Linked DNA regions of Homo sapiens: region 1 is linked to region 2. Evidence: promoter capture Hi-C in human tissues and cell types (Jung and others, 2019). All regions are on one chromosome and are shown on one strand. The core of a region is centred on a gene start or on the middle of the fragment in contact, and the rest is flanking DNA. Distances in the headings are between cores, read along the strand shown. Region 1 overlaps GNB1 (G protein subunit beta 1). Region 2 holds the start of SSU72 (SSU72 homolog, RNA polymerase II CTD phosphatase).

Region 1 (5,677 bases), core at 2,981-5,480, 250 kb before region 2:
AAGGCATCCAGACAGCTTCCATCTGAGACACTGCTCATCTTGTCCTGGCACTCTTACTGCTTAACACATTAACGTCCACAAATCACAGTCGCTAGGATTTATATGTGAAAACCAGGGAAAGAATTAACCAGTCTTATCCCTTAAGAATAAACTGCCCTTGAGGTGTGACCTTGTCCATACCTAATTCCGGTGATGCTCCATGTGTGCAGGGAGGCCTGAGGTATTTTTCCTTAGTGAAGCTTTCCTCATGATTAAAACATCCGTTTCAAATAATGCCTTTAGAAACAACTATTTGGTCAGAAATCTTTCTGACACCGTGTTGCTGTGCAGCCTGCCTCCCCAGAGAGCAGTGGCAGCAGGATGCCTGGTCTGCGTGCTCGTGTTACGGGGCATGCCTTGCAGGCCTTTCTGGTTCTGTGGACCGTAGACATCAAGTATCTATACTGTAGGTTATTCGAATTCCTTTAGGCACACTAGGAAAGTTCAGACTGGAAACTGACGGCTGAGCTTCTTAGGTCATCGGATAGTTTCCCACAGATGGGTTTTAATCTCAAGAAAATAACTGCTATCAGTTAGATTTTGATGTATATTGTATTAGCCTTTTGACTTACACAAAAGTTATAATGGTAAAATTGATCCTCTGTGTAATTTATGTAGGAAATTGAAGTGCTTGCATAAGCCGTACTTGCATGTGAGAGCTAATTGTAAGGGATTAAAGACATTAGCAACTGTGTCCTCAGCTTTGTTATACTTGAGTCATACTTAACAGCCAAGATCTTCAGTCATACATTAACAGCTAAGATCTTGGTCAGAAATGCAGCCTCCATTTATGACATTCTCTTGGGAAAATAAGTCTCTTGTTTAACAAGGTGATTTAGTTTTTACTTTGATTTCAGGAATATTGTCTAACGTGAGTAGGGCGAGAAGGCAGGGCGGCTTGTACTGAGCCTAATTTAGCCTGCACCTATAAGGATCAAGGTGTTGTTTCTGAGCCTCCTGGGATCCCAGGGCTCACTTGGGTGGGAGAGTGGGTTGTCCCTGAGCCAAAAAACTGCTGGACACACCCTGTGTGCTCAGGATTGCTGTGTGAGCATCCTGACAGCTTTTGACCAGTAGCGGTTCATGGTTACTGAGATGAGGTGGCTTTGAGATTCTTGGTTGCCAGGTTGCCACTCACCCCCGTTCCCTGAAGTAACTTCCCCTAGGTCTTCATGCGATAGCTATCCTAAGTGTCAGGTTTTATTTTTTTTATTTTGAGATGGAGTCTCGCTCTGTCACCCAGGCCGGAATGCAGTGGTGTGATTTTGGCTCAGTGCAACCTCTGCCTCCCAGGTTCAAATGATTCTTCTACCTCAGCCTCCCAAGTAGTTGGGATTACAGGCGTGTGCCACCATGCCCAGCTAATTTTTGTATTTTTAGTAGAGATCGGGTTTCACCATGTTAGCCAGGCTGGTCTTGAACTCCTGACCTCAAGTGATCCACCCGCCTTGGCCTCCCAAATTGTTGGGATTACAGGCATGAGCCACCACACCTGGCCTAAATGTCAGTCTTATGTTCTTGGATTTATAGGGAGACCTAGATTTTTTTATGAAAAATGCTTAACAGATTTTTCTTTTTATAACCCACCAGCATATGTTGAGTAGTATTTTAGACATTGTAATATTATGCAAAGCCAATAAATAATCATAATTATATTTTATTTACCTGGCCCTACTTAGCCATTGTATAAGTTCTGATGAATGCTGAAGAAAAGTTCTCTGGTTTGTAATGAGACCATAGTTCTCAGACTTTCCTTTTTTTTTTTTTTGAGACGGAGTATTGCTGTGAAGCCCGGGCTGGAGTGCACTGGCGCCATCTCGGCTCACTGCAAGCTCTGCCTCCCAGGTTCACGCCATTCTCCTGCCTCAGCCTCCCAAGTAGCTGGGACTACAGGCGCCTGCCACCATGCCTGGCTAATTTTTTTGTATTTTTAGTAGAGAAGGGGTTTGACCGTGTTAGCCAGGATGGTCTCGATCTCCTGACCTCGTGATCTGCCCGCCTCGGCCTCCCAAAGTGCTGGGATTACAGGCTTGAGCCACCACGCCCACCTTAAACTTTCAATTTACTTTTCTCACCTGCTTCATTAAATTATCCAACAGTTGTTTATTGATTGTGCTTGTCTTTCTGTTTCAGATCTCACATTCTTGAAGGTGGCATTGAAGAGCACTAAGATCGGAAGATGAGTGAGCTTGACCAGTTACGGCAGGAGGCCGAGCAACTTAAGAACCAGATTCGAGTATGTAGTTGTGTGTGCTTGGTTTTATTAATCATTTGAGTTTCAGGTTAGATGTTACTTGTTTTAGGAAAAATGGTTTACAGGATGACTTGTTCTATGTTTTATATGAAATTGAATCTTAGTTGGCCCAGGATGTACTAATTATAGATCTAGATACTTAGCCTAGTACATTGTTTTTGGGATTTTGCTTTCTGTATACAATTTGTTATTTGAATATACACCAGATGTCTCCGTAGAATTTATAAGTGTCTTTTGCATTCTTTATCATAACCTTGAAAATTTGTGATACCCTGGGCCACTGATCAGACTGTGATATCTACCTCCCTCCCCTGAATATTGGGACTATTGACAGCAGAAAACTTGCTTAAAAGTAAGAGTATTAACAACAATAAAAAAAGTATTTCAGGTATATCTGATGTATTTTTTCCTAATTTTGAAAGATCTTCCCTAGCGGTGATGATTGGAATCTACAGCTTCTGATAGACTGCTAGATGGAGCAGATATATCTAAATCCAAGATAGAGGCCGGGTGTGGGGGGCTCATGCCTGGAATCCCAGCAGTTTGGGAGGCCAAGGCGGGTGGATCACCTGAGGTCGGGAGTTCGAGACCAGCCAGGGCAACATAGTGAAACCCCCATCTCTACAAAAAATATAAAAATTAGCTGGGTGTGGTGGTGTGTGCCTGTATTCCCAGCTACTCAGGAGGCTAAAGTCAGAGAATCCCTTGAACCCGGGAGGCAGAGGATCCAGTGAGCCGAGATTGTGCCACTGCACTCCAACCTGGGCGTCAGAGTGAGACCCTGAAAAATAAAAAAAAAATTGAAGATAAATTTATTTACCGTGTGTAAATAAACTGCACTGTAAAAAGAATACCTTTCACAGAATTCTAAAACATTAAATTCCAGTCTGTGACTGATGTAGGATGTTAAATTGCAGAGTTCATAAACTTTTATTTGAGAGAGAGTTTCACTCTGTTGTGCCCAGGCTGGAGTGCAGTGGCGCGATCTCGTCTCACTGCAACCTCTTTCAAGCAATTCTCTTGCCTCATAACTTTCTGAAAAGGGAGGAGCAGTAGGTCTAAATGGAATTCATTCTGCTGCTCCTACTTTTGTGAAGCAGTACTTCTAGTAAATATTTTATAGAGAAACATTTAATGCAAGTATGTGTTTCCTTTCTGAAACTGCTGATGTGAAGAGTAAGAGAAAAAGAGGCAGACTTCTCAGGAAAAACCACGTCTTCAGTATGTTTTTAGGTTTTGTCCATTTGATGTAAGAGCTTTCTCTTACTCTTGTTTGCTCTGTCAAGCTTTAGCTGTTCTTCAGAGTGTCGCTGTACAGGAAGCTGATGACATTCAGTACATACCTAAATAACAGTTTATAAGCTGGGTATGGTGGTGCGCGCCTGTAGTCTGAGCTACCCAGGAGGATCACTTGAGCCCAGGAGGTTGAGGCTGTATAGTAAGCTGTGATTGCACCACTGCACTGCAGCCTAGGTGACAAAGTGACACCTTCTCAAAATACAGTAAAATAAAATAAAAAACAACAGTTTATTTTTCTGACTCCAGTGCAAGGATGAAGTCAAGTATTTCCTTTTAAACGGCCAATTACATGTTTAGAAAGCCCACCAGGATTTGGAGAGAGAAACACCAACATAATTTTAGGCAACTTGTTCCTGAACTTGAGAAAAAATAATGGAATTCTCTGAGATTTACAGCCAAAGAGAAAACAAAGTATCCTCTACTGTAAGAATTTTAAATCTTAACATTTAAAAGATCTTACATAGGTGAATAGGGAAGACTTAGATTTTTTTAATAGTTTGCTCTGATCAGACTTGTTTAACATGTCCCCTCCACCAAAATTAATCAAATGTGTTCTGAAATATTTAGTTTGATATAAAATTATTCTCTGAAATATCTATTTAAATAAAACCAAAAGGTATTCAAATTTTGCCTGACTTAATACTTAAGCTTCTGCTGTTCATTTTAAGTCAGCATGGTTTTTGGCAAGTAAAAAAGAAAAGCAAAGTGTTGTTATTTAATAATAATCTAACTGGGTTTTTGGGGGGGTTCAGAACACTCTCAGCTCTTTACCACCTGCTTTTGAGACTATATTTCATCTTATAGAAATCAGATTTTTTTTTTTTTTTTTTTTTTTTTCTGGAGACAGTCTCGCCCTGTTCCCCAGGCTGGAGTGCAGTGGCGCGATCTCAGCTCACTGCAAGCTCCTCCTCCTGGGTTCACACCATTCTCCTGCCTCGGCCTCCTGAGGAGCTGGGACTATAGGCGCCCGCCACCACACCCGGCTAATTTTTTGTACTTTTAGTAGAGATGGGGTTTCACCGTGTTAGCCAGGATGGTCTCGATCTCCTGACCTCGTGATCCGCCCACCTCGGCCTCCCAAAGTGCGGGGATTACAGGCATGAGCCACCACGCCCGGCCTAGAAATCAGAATTTTAAAGTTTACCCTGAAAATGTCTTAAATAGTAGGGTGATTTGGCATATTTGAAGAAATTTTGTTTTTCTGACAGCTATAAGTTGTTCACAAATAGTGGACTTGGATCTATTCATAGCAGATGGAAAGAGCTTGTATGGCACAGGTGAAAGACACCCAAATTTAAAAAATTAAGGCCAAAAGGAACTGTTGCACCTCCTTCCGAGGTTTGGACCCTGTCACGTTGTGAATTCCCCAGGGCCTTCTTGCACAGGGGGCTCCCTCTTGGGCTGGCACAAATGTCACGTGACATTCCCCACATGCTCTTGTTGCCACATAAAAAATGTAAAAAGAGGTCGGGCGCGGTGGCTGACGCCTGTAATCCCAGCACTTTGGGAGGCTGAGGCATGTGGATCACAAGGTCAGGAGATCGATACCATCCTGGCTAACACGGTGAAACCCCGTCTCTACTAAAAGAAAAAAAATACAAAAAAAATTAGCCAGGTGTGGTGGTGGTGGGCGCCTGTAGTCCCAACTACTTGGGAGGCTGAGGCAGGGAATGGCGTGAACCTGGGAGGCGGAGCTTGCAGTGAGGCGAGAGCGCGCCACTGCACACTCCAGCCTGGGAGACAGAGCGAGACTCCGTCTCAAAAAAAAAAAAAAAAAAAGTAAAAAGAGAGACGGCCAGGCACCGTGGCTCATGCCGTTAATCCCAGTACTTTGGGATACCAAGGCAGGAGGATTGCATGAGCCCAAAAGCTTGAGACCAGCCTTTGTAAGGTAGAAAGGCCCTGTCTTTTGAAAAAGAATGAAAAGAAACGGGTGGAATTAACCCTAACAAGGTTTTTTTCATTTTTTTGTTTGTGTGTTTTGAGACAGGGTCTCTGTCAGTCATTCAAGCTGGAGAGCAGTGGTGCGATCACAGCTCACTGCAGCCTCCCGAGTAGCTGGAACTACAGGAGCATGCTGCCACA
Region 2 (5,513 bases), core at 1,242-3,741:
AGAGTCCCAGCTGAGCCTCCCCTGCTGTAGCCAGCATCTTCCCAGCAGCCACTCAAGAGAGGCTGCCACTGCCATCAATGGTATAACTGACATTTCACAATCAATAGCTTCTGCTGGTAACTTCACAAAAACCTGACCTAAGAGATCTTTAGTACCTATTGGTTAAATAAGGTATTAAATAAGTATGTCAATACTATATGCTGTATGTGGGTAAATTCCTCTGGAACACTGAGATCCATTTACACACAGAAAGAAAACAGGCACATGGTTACAAGTCTCGTGTAATTTCTATGGCCATTTTATTTATTCAATTGGCTTCCTTTAATCTCTATTTTTCTATTTTTGTTTTCTAATTTTTTTCTTTTTAATTGCTTTCCTTTAAGCCTAGGTTCATGGGTCAAAACCAATATGCAAACTGGGATAGTCATATTATTATTGATTTTACCTTGTATTTTCCCCTTTTAAACTTATTCATTGCCATATTTTGCAAAAGGACAATTTCTTTTTTTTTATTTTTTTGAGATGGAATCTCACTCTGTTGCCAGGGTGAACTGCATAGGCACAATCTCAGCTCATAGCAACCTCCGCCTCCTGGGTTTAGGTGATTCTCCTGCCTCAGCCTCCTGAGTAGCTGGGACTACAAGTGCGCACCACTACATCCGGCTAACTTTTGTATTTGTAGTGGAGACAGGGTTTCACCATGTCGGCCAGGATGGTCTCGATCTCTTGACCTCGTGTTCCACCCGCCTCGGCCTCCCAAAGTGCTGGGATTACGGACGTGAGCCACCGCGCCCGGCTACAAGTACAATTTCTAACAGAATAATGCTGACACAGCACTTTGAGATGATAGAAAGACTACAGAAGTGACAAAAGTTGAAGTTAATAATGGACTCCAGGTTAGACTTAGCCTGAGAGCCACACCCTTCAAACCTCCTTTGATGCTCAAATATGGTAAAAAAGGGTTTTGACAATGACTCCCAGCAGCCACTCTCTCCAGTGTGGGACCAGACCAGCTATCTGGGACAAGTTCATCCCAGCACGGGGACTATCAAAACCTAATTACAGGATGACTCATTAGTGATGCATTTGGAGAAAGATCTCAATCAAAAGGGGAAAATACCCAAGTTGTCAAATAAAAGTGGACTCACTTATGTTTAAAAAATACCTTGACAAAGACAGCTGGGAAAGGCCATGGAGAATTCTCATGAATCAATAATAAGAAAAACTATCACAAGATTCTGCAAAAACCACAACCTTGCACTAAGGCAATCTTACACAAAAAATACTTCAGCAAGGACAGCTGCCCAGCAACTGCCTGTCCAACCCTGGAACGGGAGTACACTTGTTTTTTTTTTTTTTTAGACGGAGTCTGGCTCTGTCGCCCAGGCTGGAGGGCAGTGGCGCGATCTCGGCTCACTACAAGCTCCGCCTCCCGGGTTCACGCCATTCTCCTGCCTCAGCCTCCCGAGTAGCTGGGACTACAGGCGCCCGCCACCACGCCCGGCTAATTTTTTGTATTTTTAGTAGAGACGGGGTTTCACCGGGTTAGGCAGGACGGTCTGGATCTCCCGACCTCGTGATCCGCCCGCCTCGGCCTCCCAAAGTGCTGGGATTACAGGCGTGAGCCACCGCGCCCGGCCGGGAGTACACTTGTTACTGTTCTTTGTAGCCAAGGTTAATTATTTCCAAACCATTATCTTCCTCTTCATTTTTTCTTTAAAAACCATTACTTTCCTGAATGCGCAAATCGTTTACTATGGCACGCATATTCGCCAACGCCCTATTCCCAAATAAATATCATTTTCAGTTAGCCTGTTATTAGGTTGACAATCATTATCACTCCCTCTCCCGTCCGTGGCGCTCCCACGGCAAAACATCAGCCCACTGTCCACCGCGAGGCTGCATCCAGGCAGACAGGCATAGCTGGGGAATGACACACTCGCGTTGACTGGATTTACTGTAACTGGACCCAAATCTCAGACCAGCCGGCGGCCTCTCCAAGGAAGCCCGAGGCGAGGAAGATCCTAGTCGACGTGCACTCCCAACCAGGTCTGTCACAGGTCGGCCCTCGCATTTAAACGTTAAATGTTGAAGGGCTTTCATAAAAGAGCGATGTGCTCCTGCTTGTATGAGCCGGGGCCGGAGGCCGGTAACAGCGGCACGGGACGGGAGCGAGCCTCAGAATGCGGGAATGTCTGTGGGCCTCCGGGACAGTGGAGGGAGCGGGTCTAGTGAAGCGCGACGACTCTGGGGTGGCAGAAGTGAGGACTATGGGCCCCACGGGGACCGAGGGAACGCACAAAATCGTCCCAAGAGACGAAACGCCGGGCCGCGGAAGGGCCCTCAATGCTATCTCCGGCAAGCGCGGCGTTTCGCATCGCTCCCAAAGGCGGCGGCGACACCTTATGACGTCCTGTTGTTCCGCACGTCGTCGCGTCACACTAGGCGCCGGCGCGGGGTGCTGATGTCAGGACGCCGCCGCTTGGCGCCGTGACGCTCAGCCGGGCCTTGTGGAGTGCGGGTCTCTGCTGCGGACGCCGGGGGCCGGCGCGGCGTTGGCCGCCCCCGGCCTCGCCGAGTGCAGCGCGCCCGAAGGCCAGTGCCTGCGCTCCGTCCGCGGCCCGGCGCCCAGGGTGGGCGGGGAGGCCGCCGCGCAGTCGCCGCACGCTACACCGCCGGCGCCGTCGTTTCGCGTCGCCCGCTTCCGGCCACCGCGGCCGCCATTTTGTTCGCGCGGAAGCGCCGCGGTAGGGTGGGAACCCAAGCGGGAGAGCCGCGGGATTTGCGGCCGCCGCCATGCCGTCGTCCCCGCTGCGGGTGGCGGTGGTGTGCTCGAGCAACCAGAACCGGAGCATGGAGGCGCACAACATCCTCAGGTAGTTGGGCTCCACCCTGTCCCCGCGCGCTCTGCTCCGGCGACCGGCCCTCCCTCCTCCCCGGTTCCCCCTGGCCCGCGCCAGGACCCCTGAGAGGAAGCCGGGCCGGGCCGCGCTCGTGGGTCGGCTGGTTGGGATGGCAGCTGGACGGCAGCGCGCGTAGTCCACACGCGGGTGGGCATCACAGGGAAGGCAGGTTCCGGGACGAGGCGCCCGCTGTCCGGTGGTCCTTCGAGCTCTCCGAGGCCGGGCCCGGGGGGCGAGGGTAGCGTCCGCGGCGAGGGGCTGCGCGGCGGCGGCCGATCATGGTATTTCGTGTGCGTCGTTGGCCACCTTCCCTGGAAACGGCGCGCAACACAATCACGGCATACCACGATGTTGTAAATAACAAAGCGGTCTCTTTTTTTAATGCCATGGATTTGTGTGTTTGCTACTTCTTCTTCTTTTTTTTTTTTTGCGAAAGATCCTCTCTTCCTCCCTGGAACGCCTCCAACCGGTAGTTTCTGGAATACAACGTGGACTTGGTTTGGCTCTGCTAGTTTATATTCCCTGCTAACTGGCCGCCTGTGACTCTTGCGTAGCGTATGTCTAATGAAAGTTTATTCCTGCTTGATAACAAGTTTTTTGTTCAGTCACATAGCAAACTGAGAAACTGACCACTTGACTTACAGTTAAAATTTGGTATGTGTCAACTTTGATAGTAAGAAAGTTGAAATGGCTTTTTTACCTCCAAAGTTACCTACGTGAACTTTAAATGAAAACAGTGTTTCGCTTCTCTTCTCGCAGTCCAGCTATAACTTTCCTGAGCAACTTGGGAAAATTAACAGTCCCCCTTTTTTTTCCGTTTTTAACAGTGTCACGTGGGCCAGGCACGGTGGCTCACGCGTGTAGTCCCCGCACTTTGGGAGGCCGACGCACGCGGATCACCTGAAGTCAGGAGTTGGAGACCAAAAAACACCCCCCAAAAATCAGTGTCAAGTGTTCATGATCTGCTGATTCTTTCTCTTTATTCTTTTCTTTCTTTTTTTTTTTTTTTTTTTTTTTTTTTGAGACAGAGTCTTGCTCTGTCGCCCAAACTGGAGTGCAGTAGCGCGATCTCGGCTCACTGCAACTTGTGCCTCCCGAGATCGAGCTATTCTCCTGCCTCAGCCTCCCGAGTAGCTGGGACTACAGGCACCGGCCACCAGGCACGGCTAATTTTTTTTTTTTTTTGTATTTTTAGTAGAGACGGAGTTTCATCATCTTAGCCAGGATGGTCTTGATCTTATGACCTCGTGATCTGCCCGCTCGGCCTCCCAAAGTGCTGGGATTACAGGCGTGAGCCACTGCGCCCGGCTTTTTTTGTATTTTTAGTAGAGACGGAGCTTCACCATGCTGGCCAGGCTAATCTCAAACTCCTGACCTCAGGTGATCTGCCCGCCTCGGCCTCCCAAAGTGCTGGGATTACAGGCGTCAGCCACCGCATCCGGCCAAAGGTTGTTTTTAAAACTAGAAATGTGCTAGAATTACATTGTGCTGGATCTTCATTTATAAACTGCAGTTACCTGTAAAAATTTGATACATTTAAGCAAAACAATGCAAGGCTCACCCCCCCCCCCCCAAGACAAAATTATTGTTAATTGGAATAACAAATGGGCTGGAGACCTTCTGGTTCTGCTGGTTCTCCTTGGTGATCCTTTGTTCAAGATTTTCTGCTGTACCTGCATAACAAAGATGGAGTAGGCCGGGCGCAGTGGCTCACACCTGTAATCCTAGCACCTTGGGAGGCCGAGATGGGCGGATCACAAAGTCAGGAGATTGAGACTATCCTGGCTAACACGATGAAACCCCGTCTCTACTGAAAATACAAAAAAATTAGCCGGGCGTGGTGGCGGGCGCCTGCAGTCCCAGTTACTCGGGAGGCTGAGGCAGGAGAATGGCATGAACCCAGGAGGCGGAGCTTGCATTGAGCCGAGATCATGCCACTGCACTCCAGCCTGGGCGACAGAGCAAGACTCCATCTCAAATAAATACATAAATAAAATAAAGTTGGAGTAGAATATATATTTTTTTTCTTGAGGGGGAGTCTGTAGCCCAGGCTGGAGTGCAGTGGTGCTATCTCAGCTCACTGCAAGCTCCGCCTCCTGGGTTCACACTATTCTCCTGCCTCAGCCTCCTGAGTAGCTGGGACTACAGGCGCCCGCCACCACGCCCGGCTAATTTTTTTGTATTTTTAGTAGAGACGGGGTTTCACCATGTTAGCCAGGATGGTCTCGATCTCCTGACCTCGTGATCCGCCTGCGTGGGCCTCCCAAAGTGCTGGGATTATAGGCGTGAGCTACTGCGCCTGGCAAGATGGAGTAGAAATCTTAACAAAAGGAAATGTTTTAAAAATTCTATTTAGGGCTGGGCGCGGTGGCTCACGCCTGTAATCCCAGCACTTTGGGAGGCCGAGGCAGGTGGATCACGAGGTCAGGAGATCGAGACCATCTTGGCTAACATGGTGAAACCCCGTCTCTACAAAAAATACAAAAAAATGACCCCGGCATAGTGACGGGCGCCTGTAGTCCCAGCTGCTCAGGAGGCTGAGGCAGGAGAATGGCGTGAACCCGGGAAGCAGGAAGCAGAGCTTGCAGTGAGCTGAGATCCGGCCACTGC

Evidence for each region. Contacts are between HindIII fragments. The study calls those that stand out against the background at their distance.
Region 1: a contact is called between a fragment that was not itself captured here and the fragment with the promoter of SSU72 in region 2, in 3 of the 25 tissues and cell types used here (dorsolateral prefrontal cortex, spleen and thymus).

Annotation. Positions count from the first base shown.
Region 1 is chr1:1,821,995-1,827,671 of GRCh38, reverse strand. It overlaps GNB1 (G protein subunit beta 1), which reads left to right. Exons shown (of 12, transcript NM_002074.5): 3 at 2,173-2,275. The coding sequence starts at 2,219. Among named protein-coding and RNA genes, the nearest start is that of NADK, 46 kb to the right of the region's middle. RefSeq lists an enhancer at 761-1,664. The HindIII fragment of the contact is 4,641 bases long and covers 1,910-5,677 here.
Region 2 is chr1:1,571,841-1,577,353 of GRCh38, reverse strand. SSU72 (SSU72 homolog, RNA polymerase II CTD phosphatase) reads left to right here and starts at 2,491. Exons shown (of 5, transcript NM_014188.3): 1 at 2,491-2,876. The coding sequence starts at 2,797. SSU72-AS1 (SSU72 antisense RNA 1) reads right to left here and starts at 2,407. Exons shown (of 1, transcript NR_197593.1): 1 at 283-2,407. RefSeq lists enhancers at 1-300, 2,218-2,287, 2,298-2,407 and silencers at 699-868, 2,528-2,687, 2,928-3,007. The HindIII fragment of the contact is 14,967 bases long and covers 1-5,513 here.